Linked DNA regions of Homo sapiens: region 1 is linked to region 2. Evidence: promoter capture Hi-C in 16 types of primary human blood cells and fetal thymus (Javierre and others, 2016). All regions are on one chromosome and are shown on one strand. Each heading gives the region's core, a stretch centred on a gene start or on the middle of the fragment in contact. The rest is flanking DNA. Distances are from core to core; before and after follow the strand shown. Region 1 has its middle 4.2 kb from the start of BECN1. Region 2 holds the start of TUBG1 (tubulin gamma 1).

Region 1 (6,798 bases), core at 2,750-5,249, 220 kb after region 2:
CTGCACTCCAGCCTGGGCGACAGAAGGAAACTCCATCTCAAACCCCCCCCCCCCACACACACACACAAAACCAACAAAAAAAGAAAGTGATATTCAAATAAAAGCTTGAAGAAGGTGAGGAAGGAATTCTTACCTGCATCTTAAGGAAGAGCATTCTAGGCCAAGGGAACAGCAAGAGCACAGAGGGTACCTGTTTGGGGATTAGCAGAGGCTGGTGTGGCTAGAAGATGGGCAACGAAAAGAGATACAGAAAATGGGGTGAGGGAGGTAAGAGTGTTGAGCTACCACCTAGGCTCTTATAGGGATTGTAAAGCTCTGGCTTTCACTTTGAATGAGATGAGATGACTGGGTCTTGAGCAGAGGGACTTACTTCATTTTTAAAAACAACTTTATGGGGTATAATTTACATACCATAAGACTCACACTTTTTAAATGTACAGTTCAATAATTTTTAGTAAATTTACACAGTTGCCCAACTATCACCATAATCCAGTTTTAGAACATTTCCCATCTCCCCTTGCAATCCCCCACTGTGGCCTCCCAAAGTGCTGAGATTACAGGTGTGAGCCAATGTGCCTGGCCAAAAGTTTTTCATTTCAATAAAGTCCAATGTTTATGCTTTTGGTGTAAAAGAAACCACTGCTTAACCCAAAATTGTATGTAGTATTGTCTATTTTATTTTTATTTTGAGACAGTGTCTTACTCTGTTACCCAGGCTGGAGTGAAGCGGAACAAACAAACATGGCTCACTGCAGATTTGACTTCCTGGCTCAAGCAATCCTCTTGCTTCAACCTCCAGTGTAGCAGGGACCACAGGTGATCACTACCATGCCCAGCTAATTTTTAAAATTTTTTGTAGAGATGTGGTCTCACACTGCACTCCAGCCTCGGTGACAGAGCGAGACGCCATCTCAAAAAAAAAAAGAGATGGGGTCTCACTTTGTTGCCCAGGCTTCTGCTTTTTAAATTTAACATTTTTCTATGTTGCTACACAGTTATTGTAGTTATCATGGCTACATTACACTACACTAAATGTACTGCCTTAGTGTATTTTTTTACCGCTGGAAATTCTACTATTTCCCCTGTGGGTGATTACAATAATCCTGCAATGAAGAGCTGGCTACTTATGATAGAGACTCATAACTGGGACTACAGAATTAAGAGTGTGTCAGCTATTTAATGTCTCTTCCTTAACACTGGGAATCATTTTCCAAAGTGCTTGCACATAACTATATTCTGCTTCCAGTAATGTATGAGGAAGCCTGTTTTCATATTGCCTTGGCCAGTATTGGGTATCATATATTTGGGGAACAAAAGCAAAAAATGGCACTTCCTTGTTATTTTAATTAGCATCATTGATTGCTGGTAAGGCTGAACTTTTTGCTATGTATTTGCTTATTGTAGTTACTTTTTTTTTTTTTTTTGAGATGGAGTCTTGCTCTGTTGCCCAGGCTGGAGTGCAGTGGTGCCATCTCGGCTCACTGCAACCTCTGCCTCCTGGGTTCACGCCATTCTCCTGTCTCAGCCTCCCGAGTAGCTGGGACTACAGGCGCCCACCACTACACCCGGCTAATTTTTTATATTTTTAGTGGAGACGGTTTCACCATGTTAGCCAGGATGGTCTCAATCTCCTGACCTCCTGATCTGCCCGCCTTGGCCTCCCAAAGTGCTGGGATTACAGGTGTGAGCCACCATGCCCGGCCTTTTTTTAAAAAAAAAAAAAAAAAGAGACACGGTCTCACTCTGTCACCCAGGCTGGAGTGCAGTGGTGCAATATCAGCTCACTGGAATCTCCGCCTCCCGGGCTCAAGCAGTAGTTACTTTTTTCTGAATTATGTTTGCATTCTTTGATTATTTAGGTATTGGATTATTAGTATTTTTCTCAGTATTTTTAGTAATTTTTCATGAATGCTTTAATTATTTTCCAGATGTTCAGGAAGTTTTAAATTTTCAAGTCAAATCTGCTTATTTTTCTTGATGACTTATACTGCTTAGAAAGTTATTCCCACCTCCAGAAGTGTCTTTCTTTTCTTTTAAATGTATGTGGTTTCTTATAGTTGGTATTGGATGTGATATGTGGAACTAGATTGATTTTTCTCCCGGTTTTGTGACTAGGGATAGTGTTTACAATCCTTCTTCCTCTTGGCTCTTTCAGCATGAAAGCCCCTTTAGGGGAGGTGACTGGAATCATCCCCAAAGAATTCTCACCTAGTCCTGGTGTGGCTGCTTCATAGTCCTGCGTTTCTTCCTGCTTGGCTGTCCCTAACATCTCAGAAACGCATAGAGAAGTAACGGGCTTCTAGAGAGGTAGGGGGTATAGTGTTACAACTGAGGATTTGGAAGTTGAGACCACCTGGTTCTTTACCATCCACTAACCATGTGACCTTATGCAATTTATTCAACTGTTCTGTGCTTTGTTTTCTTATTTACAAAATGAGATTAATAGTATACAGTAGTAAATATCATAAAGGGTAGTGTGATAAATGAGCTGATACATTTGGAATGGAGGGGAATGACTGTTACATAGTGAATGCTCTGTGTATCCTCACACTTGGGAAGTATATGTAATCAGTGTATGTAGTGCTTGAGGGATTGTGAATAATACACAACATATCCTCAGTCATCGATTCAACAGATGTTTATTGAGCATCTACTATGTGCCAGTCCCTATTCTAGGTCTGAGAGGATATACTGGTGAACTGCTCTAATAGTTTATATTCCAGAGGAGAGAATTTGACAGTAAACATGTAACCAAGTTAATAAGATAATTTCAGATAATGGCAGATATTATGGGTTGAATGATGTCCCCCAAAAGATGTTGAAGTCCTAACATCTGGGACTAACACATGGGAATGTGACCTTTTTTGGAAATAGGATCGTTGCAGATGAGGTCATTGATGTTAGCCCTAGACCAATATGACTGCGTCCTTATAAATAGGGGCAATCTGGACACAGAGACAGACATGTACCGTGTCTGAGGGAAGATGATGTAAAGAGACACAGGGTGATCTGTAAGCCAAGGAAGACCTGAGGCTACCAAAAGCCAGGAAAGAGGTCTGGAACAGATACTTCTCTGGCTCCCTTAGAAGGAACATGGTCCTGCTGACACCTTAATTTTGGATTTCTGGCATCCAGAACTCTGAGACAATATATTTCTTTGGTTCTAAGCCATCCACTTTGTGGTACTTTGCTACAGCAGCCCTAGAAAGCTAATACAGTAGGTAAGAAGGTGATGTGATAGAGAGTAAGTGGGGGCAGGGTGGGAGGAGCTGCTTCAACTGGGGGATTCAGGAAGGCCTATGTTATCTGGAAACCACTGAGGGTGGTAAGTAGGGAAGAGACTTGACTGGCTGACTTAAAAAGAAACTATTTACGGGGGGATAGAATACATAGGGGAAAAGACACAAATCATACATGTATTTTCAATGAATTTTTACAAAATGAACACGTCAATGTAACCAGTACCCAACTCCCTCTCCCATGCCACCCTCTAATTGATGCCCACCCTAAGGGCAAACAATATTGTCAATTCTAACACCCTAGATTGAGTTTTGACTGTTTTTTGAATTTCATGTAAATGGAATCATACATGACATACTCTTGTTTCCTTTCGCTCATCATGAGATTCACCCACCTTGTGTAGTTTTAGTTCATACATTCTCAATACTTTGTAGTATTCCATTGTGTGACTATATTAAAATATAGATATCTCTCTTGCTGTTAAGAGGCATCTGGGTAGTTTCCAGTTTGGTCTATTGTGAATAGTGTTGCTATGAACATTCTTGTTCATGTCTTTTGGTGAATATATTTATGCATTTCTCTTGGGTGGGTCCCTAGAGTTGAGGTTTCTGGGATCTCTCTCTCTCTCTTTCTCTTTCTCTCTCTCTCTTTAGGTATATTCAGCTTGAGTAGATGCTACCATCTCTGTGGCTGACATATTAGCAGATTATTTTGAGCTGGCCTGGTGTGCACCTGTAATCCCAGCTCCTCAGGAGGCTGAGGCGGGAGGATCACTTGAGCCAGGAGTTCGAGACCAACTTGGACAACATAGCAAGACCCTGTCTCAGTCAGTCAATCAATCAATGATAAATTTTGGTGCTGAGTGAAGAACAGAATGTGACAGTTGGTGGGGGGTGGCAAGAGTGGAAATGGAGAGACCAGATAGGAGCCTATTGTAATAGTCCTAGCAAAGGATGACAGTGGCTTTGGCCAGGGTAACAAGAGATGGAGGAAAGCACACTCATACAGGATGCATTATACAGGGAAAGCTGACAGGACCTGCTGATGGGTTGAATGTGGAGAGACGAGGAAAAGAGAGGAATCAAGGTTGACTGTTAGGTTTTTGGTTTGAACAACTAGGTGGACAGTTATGTCAATTACTGAGATGGAGAAGAATAGGAAAATAACAGGTGTGTGGGAGAATCAAGAATTCTGGTTTGGCCATGTTAAGTTTGATATGCTCATTAGGTTTCCAAGTAGAAACATCAAATAGATGGTTAGAACTCAGTGAAGATGTCAGATGGGAGATACGAATCTGGGGCCCTCAAATCAGCATACAGATTTTTTTTTTTTTTTTTTTTTTTGAGATGGAGTTTCGCTCTTGTTGCCCAGGCTGGAGTGCAATGGCGCGATCTCGGCTCACCGCAACCTCCACCTCCCCAGTTCAAGTGATTCTCCTGCCTCAGCCTCCCGAGTAGCTGGGATTACAGGCATGTACCACCACGCCCAGCTAATTTTGTATTTTTAGTAGAGACGGGGTTTCTCCATGTTCAGGCTAGTCTCGAACTCCCAACCTCAGGTGATCTGCCTGCCTTGGCCTCTCAAAGTGCTGGGATTACAGGCATTAGCCCCCGTGCGTGTCTGGCCGAATACAGATGATACTTAAAGCTATGAACATGCATAGATCCTCTTTTTTTTTTTTTTTTTTTTGAGACGGAGTCTCGCTCTGTCGCCCAGGCTGGAGTGCAGTGGCGCGATCTCAGCTCACTGCAAGCTCTGCCTCCCAGGTTCACGCCATTCTCCTGCCTCAGCCTCCTGAGTAGCTGGGACTACAGGCGCCCGCCACCACGCCCGGCTAATTTTTTGTATTTTTGGTAGAGACGGGGTTTCACCGTGTTAGCCAGGATGGTCTCTATCTCCTGACCTCGTGATCCACCCGCCTCGGCCTCCCAAAGTGCTGGGATTACAGGCGTGAGCCACCGCGCCTGGCCGAACATGCATAGATCCTCTTAGGGAGAAAGTGTAAGCAGAGAATAAAGGACCTAAGTCTCCTGAAGCATGCCACCATTAAGAAGTGGAGCAGAGGAGGAAGAGCCAGCAAAGGAAATGGGGAATCACTGTTGAGGCTGGAGAAAGATCAGAACAGGTTGCTGTGTGTATTTTAAGAAGGGGAGTGGCTAATATATTGAGTACTACTGAGAGATTCAAATAAGATGAGAGGTGACCACTGGTGTCAACATGGTAGTCATTGGTAACCTAACAAAAATTATATCAGTGAGAAAGTGGGGTTGAGAAGTCTGATTAGAGTGGATTGGAGTAAATGGGGCATGAGGAAGTAGAGTAAGAGACAATAAATAATTCAAGAAGTCTTGCCAGGAAGGAGAGCACAGAAAGGGAGTAACAGCTACAGAGGAATCTGGATTCGGGGGGGAGTTTTCTCAAGATAGGGGATATTGGTTATGTCTGGAAATGACCCAGCAGAGGATGTGATGTAGGAAAAAGAGGGGCTAATCATGGGCACAGACATGGGATTGAGAAAGTCAAAGGGGATGGAATCCAAAGCACAAAAGGAAGAGATAGGAACAGGTTTGTTTCCTTCAATGAAAGAGGAAAGGCAGAAAGTATTTTGCAGATTGGCAGATTTGGTGGTGAGATGATGAGGTAGTTCTCATCTGCTTCTGTTTTCTCAATAAAGAATGAGCCCAGGCCATAAGTTGGAGGTGGGAGAGAAGGAATACTGGAGGTTCAGGGAGATGAGAAAGTATGATAGTCATTGGGAGGGTGGGAGAGCAAACTTGTCAGGAGCATGTAGTAGGAGCTCAGGCAGTGTTGTGCACTCATTTGAGATTTTGGGACATGAATTTAAAATTAGACCAGTCATCAGTGATCACATGTGACTTGTAAGCACCCAGAAATGAATAGTTATTGTTAAGTGTAGTGGTACTCTCCAGTTGTTCACTGAATAAACAAATGAATGGAGTATTATATTAAACACTTGGATGGGGAGGAGGAAGGGAAATAAAGAGAATGTGTATCTGTCTTATAACCTACTTGAAGGAGACAAAACATAATTATTTGAGAACAAAGCATATTTTAACAGGCACAAACATATTAGCTTTTCCAGTTGATGTTATAAATTCTGACTGGAATAAGAATAGTGGCATACTTAAAATAGAATGGAGTAAATGTGGGAAATAATTCCTGAAGTTTCAAATCGGATCTCAAAAGTTCCCAGGGAAATGTGTTAACAGAAAACATGTAAAAGGGGGAAAACTGATAGAGCATGATGTTATATGTGGCCTTCTATAAGCTGAAAAGGACTTTGAGCTTGAAAGCAGGAATGGAAATAATTACTGTAATTTAAGGAGTAACCTCTTCATGCTAAGCATTAACAGATCACTTACTTACCTGACAGTGGCTACTATTTATTTTGTGTCTAAGCACTGTGCTAATTGTTTTACATATATTATTTCTAATATTCACAACACTACAAAATTACATACTATTATTTATTACTAATTATTAAAATTCCATCTTACAGATGAGGGAATCGAGACTCAGCATTTCAATAATTTGCCC
Region 2 (6,311 bases), core at 3,544-6,043:
TACATGCTTGTTGACTCTCACATTCTTCCCCCAAATCACTCATTCACAGATGAGGTTGAGACTAATGAAAACACAAGCTATTGGAAGGAACGGCCTGACATTTCTATTATTATGCTAGAGACAATAACAGATCAGTGACCAGAAGTAATCTAGGCTGGAAGACCTCTGATATGGCCACCATAAATTCTCTGGTACCTGAAAAAAAAAAAAGTATGAAAACCTTGGAATACTATGGTGACAAGGTATCTACATCTATCTCCATCTTTTTTTTTTTTTTTTAAGATGTAAGAGGGCATATTCACAGTTACGGCAAAATATGACTGAGGATACAAAACACTGAAAATTAAGAGCTACCTACCTGAATTCTGATGGGTTTTTTTTTGTACTCCTATCTCCTAATACCTCAAAATGCATAAAAATCTCAGTTAATGATATGTCATTTTTGTCCCATTATTCAATACAATAAAAGAGAAACTAAATATTTCAGATTTGATTTTTCTGACTTGAGCTAATGATCCTCCTCCCTTTCTTAAACATTTAAAATGTTTGTTAACTGAACAGTCAGTCACTCTTCCACATTTCTAAGCGAAATGTCAACACTCATACTCAATATGACACTACTAGAATGTGAAGCCCAAATTTCATTTTAAATCTCTAATTACCTACCAAGGAAGCTCATTTCCCCAAACAATTCTGTGAACTCCAATGCCAGACTATCCAAGTTTCTGGGGACTTAACAGTATCTGTGCCTTTCACATGTAGGAGTCCTCTCCAGAAATGGCATACCCAACTGTTCTTTTAGTCTCAAGAGTCACATTGTCGGCCAGGGACAGTGGCTCACACCTGTAATCCCAGCACTTTGGGAGACCGAGGTGGGTGGATCACCTGAGGTCAGGAGTTCAAGACCAGCCTGGCCAACATGGTGAAACTCTGCCCTACAAAAATACAAAAATTAGCCAGACGTGATGGTGGGTGCCTGTAATCCCAGCTACTCGGGAGGCTGGGGTGGGAGAATCGCTTGAACTTAGGAGGTGGAAGTTGCAGTGAGCCAAGATCACGCCATTGCACCCCAGCCTGGGTGACAGAGCGAGACTCCATCTCAAAAAAAAAAAAAAAAAAAAAAAGTCACATCCTCATTTTGTTGTCTCTCTCCTGCACCTTCTTAAAATGTGATGGGACTGTAACAAGAGTAACTGTGTTCTGGATACACAACAGACAAGCTACTAGGAAATGCCAAAGATAAAGACCAATCACAGCAATGCTTTAAGAGACCCAGAGTACAAAAGGGGTTCTAAGTGAGCCTCTAAACATAGCATGTTAATAAGCTTAAGTAAACACTGGTAGAGGCCAGCAAATTAAAGCTAGCTGTAACATCTAAAGATATGTCCCAGTCACAGCAGCTCTTTATGTGCAGACCTCAACCTCACATTCTGCTTCAGAAACCTCTCTCAGACAAGCGGCAGAAGAAAGGTCCCCTCCTCGCAGATCACGAGGTCAGGAGATTGAGACCATCCTGGCTAACACGGTGAAATCCCGTCTCTACTAAAAAAAAATACAAAAAATTAGCCGGGCGTGGTGGCGCGTGCCTGCAATCCTAGCTACTCGGGAGACTGAGTCAGGAGAATGGCGTGAACCCGGGAGGCAGAGCTTGCAGTGGGCCGAGATGGCGCCACTGCACTCCAGCCTGGGCGACAGAGCGAGACTCCATCTCAAAAAACAAAAATTAATTAAAAAAAAAAGGTCCCCTCCTCAAAAAGAACAGCATACATGCTACTAATTCATTTGCATTCATAAATCTTTGGTTTAAAAATCCATTTAAGGCCCGGTACAGTGCAGTGGCTCACACCTGTAATCCCAGCACATCGGGAGGCTGAGACAGGTGGATTGCTTTGAGGTCAGGAGTTTGAGACGAGCCTGGGCAACCTGGCAAAACTGTCTCTACAAAAAAATACAAAAATTAGCCAGGCATTGGTGGCGCATGCCTGTAATCCCAGCTGCTCGGGAGGCTGAGGCAGGAGAATCGCTTGAACCTGGGAGGAGGAGGTTGTAGTGAGCTGAGATCGTGCCATTGCACTCCAGCCTGGGCAACAAGAGCCAAACTGTCTCAAAACAAAAATAAGTAAACCCTGATAAAGTGTTTTTTTCCATCAGGCAGTCATACTTTGATACAAATTGGTTTAATGAGGCCCAGCCTTCTTGCTAGAGATACCAAAACCACTGTGGGAAATGTTTTGACTGGATAAAACACTCTTCAGTGAGGTGCTATAGTGAAGATTTCTACAGAGAGCAATGGGAATCAGTACCTAGGGGTCAAGGAAGAAGCACTTGGCTGGGCACGGTGGCTCATGCCTATAATCCCAGCACTCTGGGAGCCCAAGGCAGGAGGATCACCAGAGCCTAGGAGTTCGAGACCAGCCTGGGCAATATAGTGAGACCCTGTCTCCACAAAAAATTTAAAAAATTAGCCAAGCATGATGATGTGCACCTCTGGTCCCAGCTATTGTGGAGGCTGAGGTGGGAAGATTGCTTGAGCCCAGGAAGTGGAAGTTGCAATGAGCCGAGATCATACCACTGCACTCCAGCCTGGGTGATAGAGCAAGACCTTGTCTCAAAAAAAAAAAAAAAAAAAAAAAGGCCAGGCGCAGTGGCTCACGCCTGTAATCCCAGCACTTTGGGAGGCCGAGGCAGGCAGATCACCTGACCTCGGGAGTTCGAGACCAGCCTGACCAACATGGAGAAACCCCATCTCTACTAAAAAAATACAAAATTAGCCGGTTGTGGTGGTTCATGCCTGTAATCCCAGCTACTTGGGGGGCTGAGGCAGGAGAAATGCTTGAATCTGGGAGGCGGAGGTTGCAGTGAGCCGAGATCACGCCATTGCACTCCAGCCTGGGCAATAAGAGTGAAACTCTGTCTTAAAAAAAAAAAAAAGGGAAAAAGCACTACCAAAAATAAATGAAGAACGTGGTAGGAAAAGTTTACCATCGAGTTTGCTAAAGGCTCTGGAAGCCACAAATGCCAGAGACTACTGTGACACCTTTAACTGGGTCTCTTTCAAACTGGGAGAGGATTAGCTTAATAGCTGAACACTGTTTTCGGGTCAATGAACTTGGAATTATTTGTTCTGCTTCAGCTCACTGAAAATCTTTCAGATAAAGGATAATAAATGTTTTGATTTTAAAACAAATTTTAAGGGGAAAGCTATTTTTAGCAAAAACACAATTAAAAAACACACATATTTTGTTGTTTCAGGCTTATCCAGAATAGTCTTAATCCATTCAGCAGCAGAAAGCCCCCTATAAGTCAGTTCCCTTGGAACCTCCTCCATTACAAATAAATCCAAAATTATGGTTGGTAGATCCTATGAAGTCCTAGGTCCACTTCAGGTGATGACAACTGAGAGAAGCAGCAGTTCCATTTTCACAGAGCATGACACACACAAATAAAGCATATTTACAGTGCTACTTTTCCAGCTCAGGAAAACTCACACACAGTATTAGACATCAATTTCCTTGCCTATAAACCATGGCTAAGGATGCCTCTCTAATTCCTTGGAACAGGGAGGAGTTACAATCACAGGTGGCTTTGACACGCGTGTAATCTCCGTCATCATTTCCTAACTGTTCTTTAAAAGCTTGTAATTTTCTTTCAATTTTCAGCTTTGGGGGCTCACACTGACGCTTAGACTTCATAAACTTCCTTCCTAGATATATAACATGCTAATTCATGCGAATCGCTCAAGCTTGTTTTATAATCACACCTATGGATACCTTTGCAAGACTTCACGCCTCTACTCCAACAATAAACTACTAAAACCTCTGGAAACAATCTAGAACTTGCACTTGAGCAGACAAGAGAAAGGAAGTGATGGCTTTAAAGGGACGCAGCTTTGTCGGGCTCAAAAGAGGAGCCCTCGCTCACTCTTGAGCGGCTCAAGATGTTACCAGAAGCTCCCGCCAGATGTGCGGGGCGGGGGTGCGGGCACAGGTAAGGCAGAGAAGATGGGTGGACGGCCCTGGGAAGAACTAGGGTGCCGAAGCCTGCAGGCGGGATGGAGTGGAAGGAGGTGAGGCAAAATTAGGCAAGTACAGGAAGGAGCCAGTGCAGCGAAGAAAACAGGGCAGGCGAGAAGTAGAGCCCTAGAGGAACCAACGAATTCGGGACTCGGAGGGTTTCCGAGGGTCCAGTTCTCTCACCAGAAAGCCGCGTTCAGCCCCAGGCACCACAGAGCGCTCCTAGCTGGCCGCTCCCACACCAGGGCTGCCTGCACCCGACTCAGCAGAGGCTCGTAAGGCCCCAGCACCTCCACCAGGGCCCGCTGCGCCGCCTCAACCTGCTGGTCCCGCTCCCAGGAGCCTGACACATCTCGGCGGCCCCTGAAAGTCGACCCCGAAGCCGGGCCTGGGGTCGTGGGAACCCCTTCGGCCTCAGCCATCTCCCCGCGGCAGCCACAACATCCGGGGCCGTGGCCCGACAAGTCACAATAACAGCAACTGCGCAGATGCGCGATTCGGCGGGGGAGGTGGCTTCGCACCACAGCGCGCTTGCGCGCAGGCCCAAGCAGGCGCCCACCCAGAGGGGAGGGAGGACGCCGTACCCCGCCCTCACTGAGGCGCGGAGCCGGATCCGGAGGCGCCGAGCCGCATCCGGAGCCGCGCACGCGCAATCTGCATGAACGAAGGCCAGTGCTTAAAGACGTGCCATTCATTGCCAGAACTCGATTCTCATTGGAGCGGAGGAAGTTCGTGGGTGGAGCTGGTTGTTTGGCGCCTGCGTCTTGCGGCGAGCGGGCTGGCGTGCGGCGCCGTTGCGGGCGGGAGCGGCTGCAACGCCGGTGCCTGAGGAGCGATGCCGAGGGAAATCATCACCCTACAGTTGGGCCAGTGCGGCAATCAGAGTGAGCGAAACTCCGGCCCCTCAGCTAGCCAGGTTCCTTAGGGTCAATGGGATCTCGCTGTGGGATCCTGGACTCCATCTGTCCTTGCCAGAATCGTAGTTCTCTGAAAGGCGAGACATCCCTGACCCAGTGTCCACTTGCCCAACCCCGAGGGGCCCTCCCCTGCCCAGTCCCTGGCGTACAGTCCTTTCCTCAGACACGGGAGAGTCCTGCGGCTTGACTTCTTATCCCTGGACGCAGGCGCCCAGTCCCCCGGCTCCTGATTGGAACCTGCCCGGACCTAGATATCTTCTTTCTCCCCTGCCCGCCCCTTCCCCCCAGTTGGGTTCGAGTTCTGGAAACAGCTGTGCGCCGAGCATGGTATCAGCCCCGAGGGCATCGTGGAGGAGTTCGCCACCGAGGGCACTGACCGCAAGGACGTCTTTTTCTACCAGGTGCCCCCAGCGACTTGGCCGGGGGCGGCAGTTGCCCAAGGGGGCGGAAGGGAAGGGAGTGGCCTGGTACTGGGAACCCCGCTGGGCAGTAGGGCCAGGCGGCTGGCTTGAGGAGGGAGGGCCGGAGGGAGCCAGAGTTGGGAGGACTTCGGACTTGGGCCGCCCTAGCTGATTGGGCCCCCTCCTGGACTCCCCTTGACAGGCAGACGATGAGCACTACATCCCCCGGGCCGTGCTGCTGGACTTGGAACCCCGGGTGATCCACTCCATCCTCAACTCCCCCTATGCCAAGCTCTACAACCCAGAGAACATCTACCTGTCGGAACATGGAGGAGGAGCTGGCAACAACTGGGCCAGCGGATTCTCCCAGGTCGTTTCCTATTCCCTGGCAGGGCCCACAACTCGCTGGGTAGGGACAGGCTCTATGACGTCCCGAAGAGAGGGAAAACCGGATCAGGGATGTATGAATGCTGGAGGGAGAGACCTGGCTGCAGGGAGTGGACTATGTAATATTGTCAAGCGCCTACACTAGCTAATGCAGTGTGCCAGGTCATTCTAAGTGCTTTACATATATTAATTTTTCTAAATCTCCCAACAACCCTAGAAGTAAGTACTACAGGTCCACAGTCCCTTATCTGCCTTTCCAGGATCCAGAAAGCCATGAAACCAAAGGACATTTCATAACTAGTTTATCAGCAAAAACAAATTTCAATGAAGACAGGCTGTTTTATAGTTTCTTTTTTTTAATTTTTATTTATTTATTTTTTTTGAGACGGAGTCTCACTCTGTCGCCCAGGCTGGAGTGCAGTGGCACGCTCTCAGCTCACTGCAACCTCTGCTGCCCGGGTTCAAGCGATTCTCCTGCCTCAGCCTCCCGAGTAGCTGGGATTACAGGTGCTTGCCATCACGCCTGGCTAATTTTTGTATTTTTAGTAGAGACGGGGTTTTACTGTGTTAGCCAGGGTGGTCTTGATCTCCTG

The links. The method cuts DNA at HindIII sites, captures the fragments that hold promoters and counts their contacts. A CHiCAGO score of 5 or more calls a contact.
Region 1: a contact is called between a fragment that was not itself captured here and the fragment with the promoter of TUBG1 in region 2, in 1 of 17 cell types (endothelial precursors). The highest score is 5.0, in endothelial precursors.

Annotation. Positions count from the first base shown.
Region 1 is chr17:42,825,043-42,831,840 of GRCh38, forward strand. No RefSeq gene overlaps it. Among named protein-coding and RNA genes, the nearest start is that of BECN1, 4.2 kb to the left of the region's middle. RefSeq lists an enhancer at 1-169. The HindIII fragment of the contact is 7,795 bases long and covers 103-6,798 here.
Region 2 is chr17:42,604,890-42,611,200 of GRCh38, forward strand. It overlaps TUBG1 (tubulin gamma 1), which reads left to right and starts at 4,794. Exons shown (of 11, transcript NM_001070.5): 1 at 4,794-4,897; 2 at 5,219-5,331; 3 at 5,534-5,701. The coding sequence starts at 4,849. It overlaps RETREG3 (reticulophagy regulator family member 3), which reads right to left and starts at 4,485. Exons shown (of 9, transcript NM_178126.4): 1 at 4,197-4,485. The coding sequence starts at 4,435. RefSeq lists an enhancer at 4,367-4,476. The HindIII fragment of the contact is 4,939 bases long and covers 3,741-6,311 here.